3 separate regions of the Homo sapiens genome follow, and regions 2 and 3 are each linked to region 1. Evidence: promoter capture Hi-C in 16 types of primary human blood cells and fetal thymus (Javierre and others, 2016). All regions are on one chromosome and are shown on one strand. Each heading gives the region's core, a stretch centred on a gene start or on the middle of the fragment in contact. The rest is flanking DNA. Distances are from core to core; before and after follow the strand shown. Region 1 holds the start of CCSER2 (coiled-coil serine rich protein 2). Region 2 has its middle 15 kb from the start of GRID1. Region 3 holds the start of BMPR1A (bone morphogenetic protein receptor type 1A).

Region 1 (4,104 bases), core at 478-2,977:
CACAGAGGAAGATGTCATCTTCAGAGAACTGCAACAGTCTTATATAGAGAGGGCAGGCATAATGGTAGAAGATGACACTAGAATGGAGACAAATACCGCTAATCATGAAGGACTTTGAATTTTATCGATATAGACTATGGAGAGTCACTGAAGGACTTGTAAATATGGATTCAAAGTCCCTTCCTCCAAAATAGTCAAAGGAGTTGAGTCAAAGCAACAAAAAATGCAGGTCTGAATGTGGAAAGGTAGAATTTTTACAGAATTCTTAATAGAGACTTTCGGCTTGCTTTCAGGATGGCTTCTAGTGCTTTCTTAACTATGGCTTATGCTGAAGTACGACAGTATGAATTATGGCTAAAGGGTTCAACAAAGTGTGCATTTTTAACCTGAAGATTATTTGAAGCCAATGTTGTTTAGAACACAAACGAAAACAAAAAATAACAGTAACAAGCTTTCATAAATTAAGAGAAACAGTAATAAAGTCCAAGAGGAAGAAGACTGATTTCAGGCAAACACTCAGGAATATTTACATTTTTATCACATATGGATGACGGATAAGACATGTTTTGAACCCATCTTTTGCAGGAGAGCATCTTAAGTTCCTTTTGGTTAAAGAGCAGCTGCCATCTCTAAAGTCTCTAGTCTAAAAGATGATGCTTTAAAAAAAACAACTGGCCAAATGAATAGGTTCCGTCATATTTTAATGCTCAGGAGAAAAGGAATGCTTTTCATATGGCTATTTTAAAAAGCTTAAAGCTCAATTTCTCTCTTACAGGAGTGAGCTACCAACACTCTAATCTGAGACCAGAGTCCCTGCGTCAGTCATTTCCACTCCGCTAAGGCCTTGTCTGGGAGCAGCCAGCCTCATTGGTCGGGGAGCCCACACAGATGAATATGCAATTACTGAAATGGAAACAAGCTTCGCCACCAAGGACCACCACAAAGGAGTCCCTTCATTCCTCCTTTTACTTTATCAAGAAAGTAGGTGCATTATTTAAAAATGTATGAAAATACATGTCTAAAGACAAGAGAGAAGATCTGAACCTACGGCAACGGTGTGCCCCACCAAAGTTTCACCTCAGGATGTGTTTTAGGGTGTGTCTTTCATTTAGCCCAGTAATTGAAAGAAAAAAAAAATCGAACTCATTCGGGGAGCCCCGGTACTTTCCCTATCCACCCTCACACGCAACCAGGCTCCGAAATCAGAGTGCCTCAGCCTCGCCCTGATTTCTCCTGAAAGGCGGCGGCGCCCGCGGCCCGAGGCCCCGCGCTGTCACAGCCGCAGGGAGGGCGCCCTCCGGCCTCCCGGGTCCGCGCCCGCCCCGCGTCCGGCGGCTCGCGAGGGGCTAGAGAGGCTCACCCTGGAGGCCGGGTACGGGAGGGCGACACCGCCTCAGCCCGGGAGTTCGGGCCTCCGCCCCGCCCCGGACTGCGTGCCTGGTCTTGGGCTGCCCCCGGCGCCCGCCGCGACCCCGGCCCCGGCTCTGGCCCTGAGCCCGGATCTCACCGTGCGGAGGTCGCGCTGCCTCCTCGGCCGCGGCCCAGCTGCAGGCCGCCCTGCGACCTGCGGGCCCGAGGACGGAAGGTGAGACGAAGGGCCGCCCGTCACATCCCCGCCAGCCCCGCCGCCCGAGCCGCAGCAACCAGCATCGCGTCCGCGGCCTGAGGGAGCGCCGGACTCCAAAGCCGCCGCGCCCCCTCCCTCGGCCGGCGCCCGCCCGGACTCCGCCCTCCAGGGCCGGCGCACCGCGCACGCGCAGTCCCGCCCCGCCGCGGGCCCGTGCGCAGGCGCGAGCCTCACGGGGCTACGGGGACCGCCCCCACCGCCTGATCCGGCCTCAGCCCACCTCTGGCCCCGCCCCGCCCTCACGCCAGGCTTTCCCAAGCTCCGCCTCCGCTTCGGGCCCCGCCCCCTCCACTGACCTTGCCTGGCCGCCTCCTGACTCAGGTTTTTGCTGGGCCCACGCAGTGACGCCAGTCTTGCGGCTGACCTCACCTCTAGCCGTCCCCTGGACTACATTTGCTGCTTGAGTGCGGTCAAACCTGACAGCTCCTCCTCCTGGATGTGAAAAGTGAGGAGTGGTCTGAGCATTGGGCATGACTGAACCACGCACCTGCCTACCGCATCAAAACACAGGATCTTGCTAAAGCTGAGGGGAAGGGGCACCCCAAGTGCTGATCTGGTTTTCCCTTTTTTTTTTTTTTTTTGAAACAGAGTCTCGCCCTGTCACCCAGGTTGGAGTTCGGTGGCGCTATCACAGCTCACTTGCAGCCTCCTGGGCTTAAGCGATCCTCTCGCCTCAGGCGTGTATCACCAAGCCTCCGAAATAATTACAACTAAGACCACACTAGTCAAAGTAAACTATCACAAGTTGACCCAAATACCCGGCTAATTTTTATTTTTTCTTTTTAGAGTTGGGGGAAGTGGTCTTACAGGCTAGTCTCAAACTCCTGGGCTCAAGCAATCCTCCCACCTTGGCCTCCCAAAGTGTTGGGATTACAGGCGTGAGCCACAGCTCCTGGCCAATGTGGTTTCTTTGCCAGAAACCAGGTCTTTCTTCCCTTTGGGGCTTCCATCCCCCAGAGGCCATCTCTTCCCCTCTTGTTTTTCCTCGACGCGGCCAGTCCTGCTGCTGAGAGTCCTCAGCCTGGAAGGCTTCCGGGCCTGGCCGGCTGTTTAAAGCTCTGGAGTTGCCCTTACCTGGTTGTAGACTTGCAGTTCTCTGAAATCCTCGTCGGCCCCAACAGCTCGGTTGTAATAACATTTCAGGAGAACTGCTTGAAAAATATCCAGTTCTTTCCTGTCTCCAGATCAATGATACTCAAATGGAAAAAGCAGACGGAATGCCTGATTTGTATAACCACACTTCATTTAATAATACACTTTCATATTTAGAAAATAATGTCTTTTAAATATCAATCCCTAAGATATTTAATGTATTGGACAATAATGTGTGCTTAAAATATTGACAAAGACTAGGTCTAAATGCTGTGCAATCTCTCTTTGGATTAAGTGAGATTAGAAAAGCAAACACCAGGCCGGAGGCGATGGCTCAAGCCTGTAACCCCAGCACTTTGGGAGGCCAAGGTGGGAGGATCACAAGGTCAGGAGTTCAAGACCAGGCTGGCCAATATGGTGAAATCCCGTCTCTACTAAAAATACCAACAAATTAGCCGGGCGTGGTGGCGCATTCCTGTAATCCCAGCTACTTAGGAGGCTGACGCAGGAGAATTGCTTGAACCTGGGAGGTGGAGGTTGCGGTGAGATGAGATCATGCCACTGCACTCCAGCCTGGGCGGCAGAGTGAGACTCCATCTCAAAAATAAAATAAAATAAAATAAAATGCCCAGGCCAGTTGTGGTGGCTCACGACTGTAACCTCAACACTTTGAGAGGCTGAGGCGGGAGGATCACTTGAGCCTAGGAGTTCAAGATCAGCCTGGGCAACATAGAGACCTAGTCTATTAAAAAAAAAAGAAATTAACCAGGCTTAGTGGCATATGCCTGTAGTTCCAGCTATTCAGAAGGCTGAGGCAGTAAGATTACTTAAGCCCAGGAGGTTGAGACTACAGTGAGCTGTGATCATGTCACTGCACTCCAGCCTGAGTGACAGAGCAAGACCCTGTCTCCAAAAAAAAAAAAAAAAAAAAAGAAGGCTAGGAAAAAACTTTCCCATAATGCTAATACATGTACATACTTAGCAGAATCACAATAGCATTTTAGTGTATTTTCCTAATTTTATAAGCATCCTTGATACGTTTTATTTGCTTTCAGTTAATTTTCCTGGGTCTTTTCTTTTTTTTTTGAGATGGAATCTTGCTCTGTCACCCACACTGGAGTGCAGTGGTGAGATCTGGGCTCACTGCAGCCTCCACCTCCCAGGTTCTGCGATTCTCCTGCCTCAGCCTTCCAAATAGCTGGGATTACAGGCATGTGCCACCACGCCGAGCTAATTTTTGTATTTTTAATAGAGACAGGATTTCACCATGTTGGCCAGGCTGGCCTCAAACTCTTGACCTCAAGTGATCCGCCCGCTTCGGCCTCTGCTGGGATTACAGGTGTGAGCTACCGTGCCCGGCCTGCCCTTCCTCCATCTTCAAAACC
Region 2 (3,738 bases), core at 113-2,612, 2.1 Mb before region 1:
CTGAGGTCAGGAGTTTGAGATCAGCCTAGGCAACACGGTGAAACCCTGTCTCTACTAAAAATACAGAATTAGCCGGGCGTGGTGACACATGCCTGTAATCCCAGCTACTCCGGAGGCTGAGGCAGGAGAATTGCTTGAACCTTGGAGGCGGAGAATGCGGTGAGCTGAGATCGTGCCATTACACTCCACCCTGGGCAACAAAAGTAAATCTCCATCTCACCAAAAAAAAAAAAAAAAAAAAAAGAAAAAAAAAAGAAATCATGTTTAATACTATTTCAATCAAACATTATCTTTTTTTTTTTTTTGAGATAGAGTCTTGCTGTTTTGCCCAGGCTGGAGTGCAGTGGTGTGATCTTGGCTCACTGCAACCTCCGCCTCCTGGATTCAAGTGATTTTCTTGCTTCAGCCTCCTAAGTAGCTGAGATTACAGGCATGCACCATCATGGTGGGTTAATTTTTGTATTTTTAGTAGAGATGGGGTTTTGCCATATTGGCCAGGCTAGTCTTGAACTCCTGACCTCAGGTAATCCGCCCGTCTCGGCCTCCTAAAGTGCTGGGATTAAAAGCATGAGCCACCGCACCCGGCCTAAACATTATCTTTTTGTAAATGTTCATGTATGCTTGAAAAGAAACTGTAGTCTGCTCTTGTTGAGTGCAGCATTCTATATGTGTCCACTAGATCAAATATGTTAATAATATTTTACAGATGGTTTATTTCTTCCCTGAATTGTGACGGCTTTTTACTGCTTTTCTTGTCTATACTGAGAGACTTGTGCTAAATTCTCTCACTGTGATGTTGGATTTGTCTTTCTTTTTGTAGATATATAATTTTGGACTTTATATATTTTGTGACTATGTTGTTAAATGCATACAAGTATAACATTTTTATGTCTCCCTTGTAAATGAAATATTTTATCATCACATAATAATCCTCTTTATCTCTAATAATACTTTTTTGCCTTAAAGTCTACTTTGTCTGATATTGCTATAGCCACAGTAGCTCTTTTTTGGTTAATGCTCACATGGCACATTATCCTTATTCCTTTTACTCTCAATATTTCTTTATTTTTATATCCTAAATGTGACTTTTGTCACATCTAGATTTTCACAAAAAATCCAATTTACTAACATTTGCAATTTGACTAAAGCATTCAATTCTCTTACATTTAATATACTTATTAATGTATTTTTGTTTTTAAAATATCACTTTATTTTGGGCTTTCTGTTCTGTTTCTCTTTCTTGCTTTCTTGGGCTCAACTGTATTTTCTTGGACTTCACTGTACTTTATCATACACTTTTCCATCCAAAGTTATTGTCTCCTTTTTTGTGTATGTGTTTTCCTTCAAAATTAAAATCTGCATACTTAATTTACCAAAGTTTACAGTTAATGAATACTTTTGCCATATTCCCCAGACAATCCCTGTATTGTCTTATATTTTAGTTCTTATTTTTTTGTATGCCATAGGCATCACTGTTCTAGACAGTGTTCATTTATATTCACCCATGCATTTAAATGCTCATTGCTTTTCACTCTTTCCTGTGCATAGGTCCTTCCATCTGGGATCACTTTCCTTCTGCCTGAAATAGCTCCTTGAGCATTTCCTTTAGTGAACGTCTGCTTCTAATTGAACTCTCAGAGTTTTTGTTTGCCTGAAAAATCTTTATTTCATCCTAATTCTTGAAAGACATTTTTTTCCTTAGTGTGGAGTTCTAGGGTAGAAACATTCTTTCAGCTCATTGAAGCTACCACTCCACTATCTTCCGCCTTGTTATGTGTGTACTGTTGTTGAGAAGTCAGCTGTCAGTTTAAGAAATCTGTTTTTTCTTCTCTAGCTGCTTTTACAATTTTTCTCTGTATCTTTGGTTTTCTGCTGTTTCACTATGATGGATCCAGGTGTGAATTTCCTATTGACCAGGAGTTCTAAAGTCACGTGGGTGGATTTCAGCAGTTGGGGAGGGCTGGGAGGTAGGATCAGACAAGGAGATGCCTACAGCTTGTAGGGGATTGATCTGGGATGCCACATCATTAAGCCTCAGTTGTGTGCTCTGTAAAAGAGGGTTGATGATATTTACTTTGCATCTCCGTCTTCATTCAGTAAGCATTGATTGAGAACCCACTAGGTGCTAGACCCTTTCCTGGGTAATGGGAACACAAGATGAGTCTCAGCTTTTGCGACTCTTCCAGCTAGAAGGGGAGGCAGGTGTGAGAACAGACATATATGATGGTGGGTGCTGCAGCCACAGGTGGCCCAAGGATGGGTCACTTCCACATGGGGTTGGGGGTGTAGGTAATAAAGACTTCCTGGTTCATGGAGTTTCAACTTCATCTTAAAAGCCACATACATTTCTAGGGGGCCATCCACGAAAGAAGGCATTCCTAGGAGAGGGAACAGCAAGGGCTGAGAGGTGGGAAACAGCGTGGCTCATTAGTGTTACCGAATTGTTTTACACTTTGGGGTTGGGAGCCCTTTGGAGGGCTTCTGTTCTAGCCAGTAATCTTTTTGTTGCCAGTGACCATAACACATGGCAGAAACTCACACTGCAAAGGCAGAGAGGGCAGGGGAACAGCCACCACCTCTTGCCTGTGCTTCTCTGGTTCCTTCCACCCATCAGGGATCATGTCTGCCCACCTAGCCTGACTTCACATCTTACATACCCATCACCTATAGGGCCGGATTCTCTTTATTCTAGTTAAAGCATTCTGGAGGAGGGTGCTGATTGGCTAGTTTGGAGTAGGTGGCCATCTTCAGACCAATCAGACATAGTCAGGGCCTGGGTCTTCTACGACCTCGGTCATTCCTGCTACAGCCCCGTGTTGTTTTGATGGCGCAGCTCTCAGGGCAGGGGGCATTGCCTGGGGCCGGTCCTGCAGAAATTCACTACAGCCTAAGTGCTGTGGAACTTGACCATTGTTCTGCAGACAGAGGGCCTAGCAAAGGGTTTGTGTGATTTTATATTATTTTTATTTTTAATTGTGATAAAATACACATAATATAGCATTTACCATCTTAACCATTTTTAAGCATACAGTTCAGTGGCATTAGGTACATTCACATTGTTGTGCAACCCTCACCACCATCCATCTCCTGAACTTTTTCATCTTCCCAAACTGAAACTCTGTCCCCATTAAACAACTCCCCATTCTCATCTTCCCTCAGACCCTGGCAACCACCATTCTACTTTCTGTCTCTGTGAATATGACTACTCTAGGTACCTCCTATGAGAGAATCATACAGTATTTGTCTTTTCTTTTCTTCTTTTTAGATGACGTCTCACTCTGTTACCCGGGTTAGAGTGCAGTGGTATGATCTTGGCTCACTGCAATCTCTGCCTTCAAGGCTCAAGCCATCCTCCTGTCTCAGCCTCCCGAGAAGCTGGGACCACAGGTGTGTGTAACCACGCTCGGCTAATTTTTTTGTATTTTTTGTTGAGATGGGGTTTTGCCATGTTGCCCAGGTTGGTCTCAAACTCCTGAGCTCAAACAATCCACCTGCCTTGGCCTCCCAAAGTGCTGGGATACAGACATGAGCCACTGAGCCTGGCCAGTATTTGTCTTTTTGTGATGCGCTTATTTCATTTAGCATAATGTCCTCAAGGTTCGTCTATGTTGGAACATGTGTCAAAATGTCCTTCCTTTTTAAGGATGAATAATATTCCATTGCATGGATGGACCACAGTTTATCCATCATTTGTTGATGAACGCCTGGGTTTCTTCCACCCTTTAGCTATTGTGAATA
Region 3 (4,004 bases), core at 1,155-3,654, 2.4 Mb before region 1:
ACTAGAGACTTTATTTTTCAATAAGTATTTCCCCACTAGACTTTAAGCTCCATGAGGGAAGGATCTGTTGTATCTTACTGCCTTGGACCCTGTGTTAGAATACAGCGAGTATAGATGAATGAAACCCAAGGAGAGGCATCTGAAAATGTGAAGTCGATGTTAAATCTTACAGAAAACTCAAGGAGAGGACTTAGAAAAAGGTAGTTAAATGTGTTGATTAGGTTATAGTTCCTTGTGAAGGTGAAATCCAGATAACAAGGGGTTAAGAAATGAGTGGCTAGCCACCAACCAGGCAAAGGCAGGAAAAGCAGACTACACTTGGCAATCTCTAGAGATGGATTGTGAATGACTAAATTTTAATTTCAATGTTGCGCTAGTTCGCAATTAACAACCATGTGTTACTTTTATTACGAACAAGCTTTTTAAAATGTTAATAAGATTTGAAAAGGAAAAGCAGCAACAAGACAGCTTGAAGGAGTAGCAGACTTAAGAAAAGGTTTTTGTAAACTGAAAAAATCTTAAGAACATTTGTACTTTAAAGAACCCAAATACGACAGAGAAAATAACTCACGCTCCACTAAGCAGGAAAATTAGAAGGAAAGGAAAAAAACCCCAAGGTGTTAACTAATAAGAAAGACAAAAAAAAAAAAAAAAATTCTCCCTCTTTGACGGAAGGTTAAGAAGCCAGTAACAGAAGGAATTTAATGAAGGAGCTCCTGCTAAGTGCCTCAACCTCTTCTGTAAAGGGTGGGGAGAAGTGAAGAAAGTAGAAAAAGTTTAAAGTGGGCTCCACGGAAAATGGAGGAAAAATTAAACAAGAACTGAGTCTGGTTCTACTAAAAACGCATTCTACATTTCAATCGGCCTTTCATACACTCACCCCATTCCTAGATCAGAGAATTGCCCATATTTTAGCTTCAAATTTAAAAATCTAAATAATTCTGGTTCACATTCTTTATTTCAACAACTGAAAACAATGAGACGCATTAAGTTACACTCTAATTCAAAGTTTAACTCCTCTCACAAGTAAATACAATAAAGTAGTTGTTTTCAACTCCAGCAACAAAATAGCGATAATTTCAAGTAAGAGTAACTGAAAAATGTTCCTAAACGTAAAAGTGTTTGCAAACAGTTTTGGTTTTTTTTCTTCCTAATTCGTTTGCCAGAATACGATGTTCCTGGGTTCAAATCCCAGCTCCCTTAGACAAGTTAGTTAACCTCTTTGCGACTCGGTTTCTTCCCCTAAAACAATGAGGAATACAATAAACCAGAATCGTTGTAAGGATTAAATGACGTAACACAGGTGCCAAGTTCATACTATGTACTCTGAACAGTTTGTTAACCGCTTAAAAGAGAAAACCTGCAGGAGTTTGACCAAATTAAAACATCTGAGAGCATGAAAGAGTACCACGCTCAAACGCCAGACCCTAACACACAGCATATTATTTTTCTTCCCTGACGCAAGCTCATTTTTTTTTCCTTGCCAAATCTTTCCACTAGGAGTCTGGAAAGAGAAAAAAGGGTCCAGGCAATCCAGCAGAAAGTTTTCCAAAACTGAAGTACGGAATCACCAGGCCACGGAGCGGAGGCCGCGCAGGACAACAGGTGAAGCAGCTCCGGGAGCTCGGGGGCCAGGGCCCCTTCCCGCGGGGACTCGGGGGCGGGCCGGCTGCTCCTCTCACTCGACCCCCGCCCGAAACTCATTTTGTTCTCCCCTGTTCCTCCCCACAGCGTCCGGAGCCAAATCACAAATATCAGCCTCGCCGCTCCGGGGCGGGGAGGTGAGCGCCTTTCCCATTTAAGGATTCCAGAAGCGTCCCCGGAGCGACTTTCGCCCACTCCGCATCCCCAAACTCGGCCTGCAACCCGCGAGTGGGAGACAAAAGAGGGGCCGGCGGGGGACGCGGCGCGGGGTGCCGTGGGTCTCTGGCTGGGCGGTCCCGGCCCAGCGCGCGCCGAGGCCTGCGGAGCTGCCGGGGCCGGGCCGGGCAGCCCCTGGCTCCGGCCACCGCGCGCCCAGCTGCCTCTGCAGCCTCGCCCGAGCCCCTCTGGCCTCCCCGCTGCGGCCAGCCCCTCCGGTCCGCACGCGCACTCCCAACTCACCCGGACCCCAGGGAACGCATCCTCCAGCCCTCGGCGCGGAGCGGGTGGGCGCGGCGAGCCGCCGGGGCGAAGTGGGGCCCGAATCGGCCTTCGCCCTTGGCGTGCAGCGGCCCCGACCCGGTCGCCCCTCGATCGGGCCGTGCGATCTTCGCCGCGCGCGGACGGACGCGCCGAGCCTAAGCCTTCCTGCCCGCCCTTGGCCCTCCTCCCTCCTCGCTCCTGCCTCCTCCCTTCTCCTTCGCCAAGCCCGGCAGGCGGATTCCAATCTCTGCAGCGGCCGCCGCCACCGCCGCCGACTCTTGCCAGGAGGGGAGGGGGCGGCGCGGGTGCGGGGGCCTGGGGGAGGGGCGGGCGTCCGCGGGCCTTGCACGGCGCGCGCGCACTGGGAAGGCCCCCGCCCGCGCCGCGCGCACCCGACCACGGGCGCCTGCCCCGCCCCGCCCCGGACACGAAAAGAGCCGAGCGCACGGCGGAAGCGCCCGAAGAGTTCGCGGAGCCCGGCGCCCAGTTGCCGGGGAGGAGGGCCAGCCGCCGGCAAGGGGGCGCCGAGCTGCTGGTGCGGGCGGGAGTCGGGGCTGCTCCTCCGCGCGGGCCCGCCGGCCCCTCCCCACAAGCCAGCCCCACAGCTGCCGCCCGGGTAGCTTCCCGCAGACGCCGTAGGTAGCACGCGATGGAACGCGGCGGAGGGGAGCGTGGACACGGCTGCCGGGCGCTGCGGCCATCGGCGCCCTGGACGCCCGCTCCGGCCTTCGGGGCCGGATATCCCCACTCTCGCGGGCTCTTTCGCGTGGACCCCTCCTCCGGCCGACACTCACACTGCGGTGAACGCCAGTCAGCTGGCGTGAAATAAGGTCGCTGGGAAGGCACCAAGTCACCAAGGTGGGGGATGGCCAGGTCGTGGTAGTTGCGACAAAGAAAAATATAAGTCACATTGCATTTGTTTCTCGCCCACCCACCGCTCCCGGCGTCTCTTCCCGGGCTCCTTGCCAGCGTGCCGAGGCGCAGGCAGGGTGATGGAGGCTCCCCGGCCGGGAGGATCTGCCGGGGAGAGCGGCTTCCCTCATCGATTCGGGAGCGCCAGGCCCGGCGCGCCCGGGCTCCTGTGACCTGCGAGCCCGCGAATTCCAGCGGCATAAGATAAGGAGCGGCGAGGGCCCAACAGGACTGAGGTCAGCCAGCTATAAATACGCCTCCAGCTCCACCGCGGGCTCACGCTGGTGACCTCGTGTACCCTCCGGAGGCTCATTCCGTCCATTTGGAAAATGCAAATAATTGTCACCACCTCTTTTCTTCCATTTCCCCTCATTCATGGTGGAAAATGCTTTTAAAAGTATTCGATGACCCGTATGTGAGGAAAGAGGAGATAGGCCCCTTTTTCACCAAATGTGACTTTAACCTCCTTAGTAATCCAAGAAATGTATCAAGTTTAAGTCACTTAACAAAAGATGTTCTTTTAAAGGTGCATTTTAAAAAATCACTTTTAAAACTGGGTAAACTGGGTAAAAAGAAAGGGGGAAGGAAAACAATGTGCCAGGCATTTGTATTGACACACATTCTTGCCTGAAGAGGTGTTTAGATTCCAGGGTATTCCCTTATATTCTGGTATAAATGTTTGAATTCCCGTGTATTTTGTTTCAATTTTTTGGTTTATCTTTTATTCTGTCTCCCTTTTCTTCTTTTACCCGCCTTTGCCCTTAATGCTGCAGATAGCCTCTGTCATTCTGAATTATTTTTCAATTCTGTTTTCTTCCCTAATCTTTTTTTCTGGGCTCTTCAGCTGTCTCAGGTTTGACAGTCATGGGTTGTAGTATCTTGCTATGCAGGAAGAAGAGGATACGTGAGATTACTTGCATCAACTAAAATTGGTCACTTTTCTTTCTCAAGTTTCCTTCATAATACCC

The links. The method cuts DNA at HindIII sites, captures the fragments that hold promoters and counts their contacts. A CHiCAGO score of 5 or more calls a contact.
Region 2: a fragment that was not itself captured here is called in contact with the fragment with the promoter of CCSER2 in region 1 in 1 of 17 cell types (naive CD8 T cells); the score reaches 7.5 in naive CD8 T cells.
Region 3: a contact is called between the fragment with the promoter of BMPR1A here and the fragment with the promoter of CCSER2 in region 1, in 1 of 17 cell types (non-activated CD4 T cells). The highest score is 6.0, in non-activated CD4 T cells.

The regions. Positions count from the first base shown.
Region 1 is chr10:84,326,212-84,330,315 of GRCh38, reverse strand. CCSER2 (coiled-coil serine rich protein 2) reads right to left here and starts at 1,727. Exons shown (of 10, transcript NM_001284240.2): 1 at 1,508-1,727. RefSeq lists an enhancer at 834-1,183 and a silencer at 1,234-1,963. The HindIII fragment of the contact is 12,289 bases long and covers 922-4,104 here.
Region 2 is chr10:86,379,561-86,383,298 of GRCh38, reverse strand. No RefSeq gene overlaps it. Among named protein-coding and RNA genes, the nearest start is that of GRID1, 15 kb to the right of the region's middle. The HindIII fragment of the contact is 6,332 bases long and covers 1-3,738 here.
Region 3 is chr10:86,755,019-86,759,022 of GRCh38, reverse strand. BMPR1A (bone morphogenetic protein receptor type 1A) reads right to left here and starts at 2,404. Exons shown (of 13, transcript NM_004329.3): 1 at 2,104-2,404. RefSeq lists a silencer at 1,922-2,891. The HindIII fragment of the contact is 8,878 bases long and covers 421-4,004 here.